Linked DNA regions of Homo sapiens: region 2 is linked to region 1. The links are contacts of gene promoters, found by promoter capture Hi-C in blood cells and fetal thymus (Javierre and others, 2016). All regions are on one chromosome and are shown on one strand. Each heading gives the region's core, a stretch centred on a gene start or on the middle of the fragment in contact. The rest is flanking DNA. Distances are from core to core; before and after follow the strand shown. Region 1 holds the start of DNAJC15 (DnaJ heat shock protein family (Hsp40) member C15). Region 2 holds the start of GTF2F2 (general transcription factor IIF subunit 2).

Evidence for each region. Contacts are between HindIII fragments. The CHiCAGO score rates a contact against its expected background, and 5 or more counts as called.
Region 2: a contact is called between the fragment with the promoter of GTF2F2 here and the fragment with the promoter of DNAJC15 in region 1, in 3 of 17 cell types (monocytes, total B cells and naive CD8 T cells). The highest score is 8.6, in monocytes.

The regions. Positions count from the first base shown.
Region 1 is chr13:43,021,029-43,025,174 of GRCh38, reverse strand. It overlaps DNAJC15 (DnaJ heat shock protein family (Hsp40) member C15), which reads right to left and starts at 1,589. Exons shown (of 6, transcript NM_013238.3): 1 at 1,441-1,589. The coding sequence starts at 1,548. RefSeq lists enhancers at 1,091-1,140, 1,651-1,700, 1,711-1,770. The HindIII fragment of the contact is 4,162 bases long and covers 1-2,399 here.
Region 2 is chr13:45,118,822-45,122,909 of GRCh38, reverse strand. GTF2F2 (general transcription factor IIF subunit 2) reads right to left here and starts at 2,400. Exons shown (of 8, transcript NM_004128.3): 1 at 2,189-2,400. The coding sequence starts at 2,254. RefSeq lists enhancers at 1,485-2,126, 2,237-2,366, 2,127-2,770. The HindIII fragment of the contact is 3,497 bases long and covers 971-4,088 here.

The sequences.
Region 1 (4,146 bases), core at 340-2,839:
TAAGGGAAAAAGTGTAGCATTTGGAATCGTAGATCTGCCACTTACCAGGGATGATCCTGGACCAGTTACTTAAAACTTTCTAAATCTCTACTGCCTCATTTTTTTTTCTTTGTTGGAGACAGGGTCTAGCTCTGTCTCTCAGGCTGGAGTGCAGTGGCGAAATCATAGCTCACTATAACCTCAACTCCTGGGCTCAAGTGATTCTCCCGACCCAGCCTCCCAAGCAGCTAGGACTACAGGCTCACACCACCACACCCAGCTAATTTTTTTTTTTTTTTTTTAGCAGAGATGGGGTCTCCTGTGTTGCCCAGGCTGTCCTCCAAACTCATGGCCTCAAGTGATCCTCCTGCCTGGGCTTCCTAAAGCGCTGGGATTACAAGCCTAAACCACCACTTGGGCAATATTTCATATTGAATGTTGAAAATTACCATGCAACTGTGCATATATCAGGTTAAAGAAAATACATGGTTAAAATCAAACCCACCTGTTTCTCTTCAGTTGTTTAATATGGCTACAAAAAACTTAAAAATATGCCGGACGCGGTGGCTCACGCCTGTAATCCCAGCACTTTGGGAGGCCGAGGCGGGCGGATCACGAGGTAAGCAGATCGAGACCATCCTGGCTAACACGGTGAAACCCCCGTCTCTACTAAAAATACAAAAAATTAGCCGGGAGTGGTGGCAGGCGCCTGTAGTCCCAGCTACTTGGGAGGCTGAGGCAGGAGAATGGCCTGAAACCGGGAGGCGGAGCTTGCAGTGAGCCGAGATCGCGCCACTGCACTCCAGCCTGGGCGACAGAGCGAGACTCCGTCTCAAAAAAAAAAAAAAAAAAAAAAAACGTAAAAATACGTATGTGGCTCACAATATGCTTCTGTTGGACAGTTTTCTGTTAGACCCTTCCTTTTTCCAGCTCTACAGTTCATCCTGAATACACCACTTGGAGTTTCCAACTGGGCCCTGTTTCTGTGCCGGAGACTTTGGAGACAGTAGTCCTGGTACCCGAAACACTTTTTCCCCTTCTCCTTGCTGAATGGACTGTTTTTATTCATTCAGATCTTAATTTTTAACTACAGCTTTCTCCAAGAAGCGTCCCTGATCCCACCACGTCCCCTGCAAGACGTTTTTAGGGCCTCCTATGAGATAGGAAAATCCACATACAGCACTTATTTTACTGTATTTGCAATTGCCTGTTTTCTGGTTTGTGTCCCAGACAAGACTGGAAGCTCCTTGAGGAGACAGATCCTCAGAACTGCTCCGTCTTCCACGCCCAGGCGTCAAAGCCCAGCACAAAGCGGTCTCTCCACTGAACAAGTGAGCGCTAGGGCACAGACCGTGAGCGAATGCGGGGGAGTACAAAGGTTCAAGGGTGAGGCGGTAGAGGGGGCTGAAGCAGAAACTACAAGGGAGCCAGAGAGGGGTGGGGGCCGCTGGCAGGACTCACCAGTCTCTGCTGGTCGACGTCGGCGTCTGGCCGTTTGGCCGAGGGCTGCAAGTACTCAGCGTAGCGCAAACTCTCGCCAACTGGAGCGATGACACCACGGGCAGCCATGGCAAGGCGGCCCGGAGACTCAAGGCGCCGCGGCAGTGACTACGAGGCGGCCGTAGGGACAAACTAGTTAGCGCGGTTTCTTCTCGCAGATCCAGTGGACTCTGCGCTCGTTGTGCTATTAAAGGCGAGGTTCCCGGAAGATACCCTTCTCACCCGAGCTGGGTAACGTGTCCCGTGCAAGCACGGGGTCACACTCCGAAAGGAGCCAAGGGCACTGGGACGTTCTTGAATCACACTCACAGGCGCAAAGCCAACGCGGACCCTCAGGGAGCTTTATATACTTGGGCCTGGTCCCTCCCCAGGCCGCCGTAAGGGACTGGGCTTAAGCCCTGCGAACTGATGTTGGTCGAATCAGATGACTGCCCAGTAAGCTCGGAGTCTAGCTGTAGTGCCTGAGGGTGGGCTTGCCTGAGCTTTCCTGACCCCCTTCCGGGCAGCCTTTCTTCCCACTCTCAACTTCTGTTCGCACTTCTGTTTAATGCCACAGTTCTACCACCCCGGGAGAGAAATTAAAGAGGCAATTTGCTTACTCCACCCCCAAGTAAATGGCTGTATTTAAGGTGAAATTACACAGAAGAAAGTTGTGGCCGGGTGCGGTGGCTCACGCTGTAATCCCAGCACTTTGGGAGACCGAGGCGGGTGGATCACACCAGCTTGGCCGACATGGTGAAACCTCGTCTCTACTAAAAATACAAAGATTAGCTGGGTGTGGTGGTGCGTCCCTGTAATCCCAGCTACTCAGGAGCCTGAGGCAGGGGAAAAAAAGTTGTGAGCAAGTAGGTAAATCTTACTCTCCCTCAAATGAGTTTGTGCTGATTTGTATATATAAAAGCCCATTTTATTATTAAGCTTTTTTTTTTTTTTGAGATGGAGTCTCGCTCTGTTGCCCAGGCTGAGTGCAGTGGCGCAATCTCTGGCTCACTGCACCCTCTGCCTCCCGAGTACCTGGGATTAAAGGCACGTGCCACCACACCTGGCTAATTTGTGTATTTTTAGTAGAGACGAGGTTTCACCATGTTGGCCAGGCTGGTCTCAAACTCCTGACCTCAGGTGATCCGCCCGCTTCAGCCTCCCAAAGTGCTGAGATTACAGGCGTGAGTCACCGCGCCTGGCCTCCATCAAGTTTTTAGAGCAAAAATTAACCAGCAGTTGAAGCGTATGGTGTTTTCCAACTTCTGTACCAACGTGGCAGCTCTTTGGCTCCTTATACCCTTTGCAAAATCAGCTGACAGGAAGAAAAAGCTTTATTTTTTTTCTATTCCTGAATTTAAAGTTTTGAGGGTCTATTAATTTGTTCACTTAGTTAATATTATTAGCATGTCTAAGAAGTTAGGTCCTAGAAATTTACAATCTTGTAGGGAAGATAACACTGACACAGAATAATAGTACATACCAGAACATGAGCACATGCATTGCATAGCAGTATAAAGAGAACTGGACTGGGAATTAAACCGCCATTGCAAAATTACAACTGAGAAAGAGATCTGACCTAATCAACACCATCTTGCTTCTAACCTCCAAGCTGTCTTGTACATTCCTGGCCGTAGGCCAAACTAACTTTGGGAGGAATGTAATTCATAGTTTATAGTTTGAAACAAAGATGATAAAAGCCCTTTCCCAAAACAAACCTCCTTCTTGCCTGGGGACTAGACTGCCTTTGTAGGACTAACAAATTAGCCACAAGATCAGAAATTATGACTTAGGAGTCATGCAGCTGGAGGCTACAAGATTCTGACCCTCCCCAAATTGCTGCTGGAGCTAACATCACTATTGTAAAAACTACCACCAGTGCTTGAGATATTTTGCAGACCCCGCACTTGATGAATCAGCTGGCATCACCCAGATCGATAAACTGGCTCATCTGATCTCGTGGCCCCCACCCAGGAACTGATAACGCAAGACAACTTGGACTCCCTGTGATTTCATCTTTGACCTGACCAATCAGCACTCCCAGCTCACTGGCTTCCCCCTACTCACCGAGTTGTCCTTAAAAATTCTGATCCCCAGCTGGGCGCGGTGGCTCATGCCTGTAATCCCAGCACTTTGGGAGGCCGAAGGTGGGTGCATCATGAGGTCAAGAGAGTGAGACCATCCTGGCCAACATGGTGAAATCCCATCTCTACTAAAAATACAAAAATTAGCTGGGCGTGGTGGGTGCCTGTAGTCCCAGCTACTCGGGAGGCTGAGGCAGGAGAATCGCTTGAACCTGGGAGGCAGAGGTTGCAGTGAGCAGAGATCGCGCCACTGCACTCCAGCCTGAGGACAGAGTGAGACTCCGTCTCAAAAAAATAATAATAATAAATAAATAAATAAAAAATTCTGATCCCTGAATGCTCTGGGAGACTGATTTGAGTAATAATGAAACTCCAGTCTCCTGCACAGTCAGCTCTGCATGAATTACTCTTTCTCTATTGCAATTACCCCGTCTTTATAAATTTGGCTCTGTCTAGACAGCCAGCAAAGTAAACCCATTGGGTGGTTACAGGAATAAGGAAGACATCTGAGTTCTAGTGTACCTCCATTATTTTCTGGGCTTGTATAACTGAACATATCCATTAACCTCTCCAAATTACCTGTAAAAGGAGAATAACATTTGTC
Region 2 (4,088 bases), core at 1,151-3,650, 2.1 Mb before region 1:
TGTATAGTTCTTACTGTATTTACACAGTTCTATACCTGTCTAGTGATGGAATTAAATATGTACAAGATGATCTATAAACCGTGAGATATCCTAGGAAGAAACATTATTTAGCAACAAAGATCAGAACTCAAGGTATTATTTTTAATAGGAAAATTAATGTAAGGAGAAAAAACTTGAAATCAATATGTACTTCAATTCAAATTCTGATTAGATGAGAATGAAGATACACTTTCTAAGCAACAAATTACACTTTTTTTTAATTTATTTATTTTTTTGAGAAGGAATTTTTGCTCTGTTGCCCAGGCTGGAGTGCAACGGAGCAATCTCGGCTCACTGCAACCTCCGTCTCCCGGTTTCAAGTGATTCTTCTGCCTCAGCCTCCCAAGTAGCTGGGACTACAGGCGCACACCACCATGACTGGCTGATTTTTGTATTTTTAGTAGAGATGGGGTTTCACCATATTGGCCAGGCTGGTCTCGAACTCTTGACCTCATGATCCACCCACCTCGGCCTCCCAAAGTGCTGAGATTACAGGCGTGAGCCACCATGCCCAGCCCGATCCTGTGATAATTTTCTAATTGTGACTCTGGTTACCCTCCCCTCTAATTCGTACTGCACACTGCCAAACATTTTTTTTTTTCCTGAATAAATATCTGGCATCTCTACCTCACTCAAATCCTCCAAAAAGTTCGTTACTTCCTTGTAAACTAAAGTTAGAATATCTCCGTTTCATGATATGACAATCTGAGTATATGGTCCCCATCTTCATCTACACAGATCTTCTGCTCTAGGTTCTCTCTGTTTTCCACAACACGCCATGCTGATTATATATTTTGAGTCTTGCATTTCTGTTCCATTCCCCATGGTATACACTGTGTCCACCCATCCAAATCCTGTAAGACAAACATTGAGCATTTACCATGCTCCTAGGACAATGGCACCATCTCAAGTCACACCATTTTTTCAAGCTTTTTCCTTCAGTCCGTAAGGGCAATCTCCTCCTTAGTGACTCTCCCCCCAAGTAACATGCTGCTGGAGAGAGAAATGCCTATTTAATCCATCCTTTTAAGTCACACTGAGTTTGGAAATAAGTCAAATGAGTGCCACAGACTAAGGCGAGGGCTGAAGAATGAGAGGTCATGCATTTATTCATCATCTATTTGTTGAGTAATTACCATGCGCCAAACACTATTCTGGGTATGACAGGCAAAGATCCTGTTCTCATGGAATGTGATTCTGTGTGTTGGAAAGACAGAGGTAACCAACTTTGAACATATGAACACAAAATCACTCTACACTGTGAAAAGTGCTTTGAAGAATGTAATACACATCTGTCGTGTTAGCAAATGATCACAAGGGGGCTGTTTTAGGAAGGCCGACAAGAAAGACCTCTTAGATTTAATTGACGAGAACTCAGCCATGTGATAAAACAGTTAAAGCATTAAGAAACCAAAAGTCCTTACATTTTAAGTTTCAACGACTTTCAGGATCACATTTTGAATATGCTTAAGTATTATGAAACTCCCCTAGGAGAAAACACTCCCCAATATGAAACAATAAAGCACAAATAGTGCTTACTGTGAGCTAACCAAAATTGCTGTCTTCACATAAAACGTTTATTGACGGCCAGTTTCACGAGACCCAAATGTGCTCTAAAAGAATACTCCAGTCCAATGACCTCTCCTTCTGTGAGTTTGGGGCTCTCTCGCCTCTTTTGAGAGCTTCATTAAGGACCATCAACCTAAGAGAACACTTTTAAGAGTAGGCAGGGACCAGTCCTACTTTCTGGCCGAGAAAACTGTACAGAAAGTAGACATTCAACTACCTCACGCAGGCTCATGGCTAAAACCAGTTTCACCAAGGGAAGATACAAGGAATTCTTCAGTCTGGGATAAAATGCACCGTCCAAATCTGGGGACACCAAGACAAGATTCCAGGAAAGCCGTGAGAAAGAGATCTAGTCCAGGCAGATTCAGAGTAGTAACTGGCTGAAAGACACTTTGCGTCCCTAAACTAATTCCTCGTCTGCAAACAGATACAACAATGACTCCTGCCTCTCAAAATGTGTGAAGCTCTAACGAGATAGCCGTAAAAGAACTTTAAGAGGCGCACGGAGCGGGATAGGCTCAAGTTACTTAAACTATACTTGTGTTAGGAGGAGCGCAAGTGGGAGACTCGCGAACATTACCTTGACTAGCCACACTCCTGTGTTCTGTTTGGCGCCGGTCAAGTCGAGTTCCCCGCGCTCGGCCATGGGTCTGCAGCCGGTGGAGGCGTGCGGGATGCAGCAGCGACCCCAGGAGCCGCAGGGCTGAGGAGCGGGCGTCCGGAACAAAGGACAAGCCGCGCTGAGAGGCGAAGAGCCGGCGTTCCTTACCTGCCAGAACACTGGGAACCGAGGAAAAGAGGAACACGCCGCCAGGAGCCGGGACTGCGCCTGCGCACTGCTACGTCAGTACGGCGCGCTGTTGCAGACAAACTTTCTGTTTCGGAAATTTCTTGAGTGGGCGTGGCTGTCCGCGATGTCTGCATCTGAGGGATTAAAACGTAGGGTGGGATGAGCTAAAACGTTAGCAATGTATTTAAAGACATGGTCAGCATAACTGAAGAAAAAGATTATCAGAACGGAAAAATGGGGTTCAAAGAGACGAAAGGTGTCAGAACATGTCCAACCCTAGCCAAGGAGAGAGAGACAATATTTGAAGGACAGGGTCAGGGTAGTAAATTGGCGTCCCTGGCCAACGTCATTAGCACAAATGGGCACTGGGATCAAACTTAGTAGCCTTGGGTATATTGAAAACATGCCGTTTCTAGACCTGGAAAAAAAAAAGCCGTGTTTCAGCTCAGAGGCTACCCGAGCTGTTCTGATGAAGCAAGCGGAGCACCTCAGTTTCCAAAACCCGGAAGTCTGTAACGAAACGAACAAGTAAGAGACAAACCTGATCGTTTCCTCCCCTGCTTAAACAGTTTTCTCTTTCTCTTATTGCCTCTAGAATAAAGTTCAATCCTCCTGCTTCAACTGGGCCCTCTCAATTTCATCTCTTTGCACCTCCCACCATCACTCCGCCATGCACCAAACCACATCAAACCCAGCAGACTTCCCTAAACACGTCAGAATCTTCGTCGGTCATTTCAGAGCCTCTGCACACTGGATTCCCTTCCCTTGGAAGCCCTATTTTACCCCTGCCCTCACTCTCACCCCTGTGCTCTGGTTGGCAAACTCCTACTTATGGTTCAAGACCAATGAAAATGTCACTTCCTATGAGATCTTTTATCAACTTCCCCAGAAGAAATTAGTTTTTCTTCACATCACAGTGTGATACTTAGCACTCTGAACTATAATATATATGTTTACATATCTGCCTTTGCTTTCCAGACAATGAACTCCTCCTAGGCGGAAAGAGCTTTATTGAGGTATAATTGACAAATAAAAAATAGTGCTTTATTCATTTTATATCCACAATGTCTAGCACAGTGTTTAACACATTGTCAGGTTTCAGTAGGCTTTGGGTGAAAGAACATTCGCTGAAGAGAAACAAACAGTAAGGTATTGTTAAGAATGGCAAGTAATTTATTGAATCACACATCAGAGCCTTGCACAAAATTGAGGAAATTTTATGTGTGTTCAGCATAGGGCCAGGAAAAGCTGTCAGAACTCTGCTTTTAGCTAGGAAAACTAATAGGAAAGATGGGAGAGACCAGGAGTGTGTTGAAGATGAAAGTTTCAGGCTAGGCTCAGTGGCTCAACCCTGTAACCCTAACTTTGGGAGACTGAGGTGGGAGGATTGTGTCTGCCCAGGAGTTCAAGGCTACAGTAAGTCATGATCGTGCCATGCACTCCAGCCTGGGTGACAGAGCAAGGTCCTGTCTCTAAAAAATAAATACTAAAAACAAAATTTTTTTGGCCAGGCGCAGTGGCTCACACCTGTAATCCCAACACTTTGGGAGACCGAGATGGGAAGATCACTTGAGGCTAGGAGTTCGAGACCAGCCTGGTCAACATAGGAAGAACCCTATCTCTAAAAAAAAAAGAAAAACAAAAAAAAATTTTTTTAAGCAGAAAATGAAGGTTTCTTCTTGTGCAACAA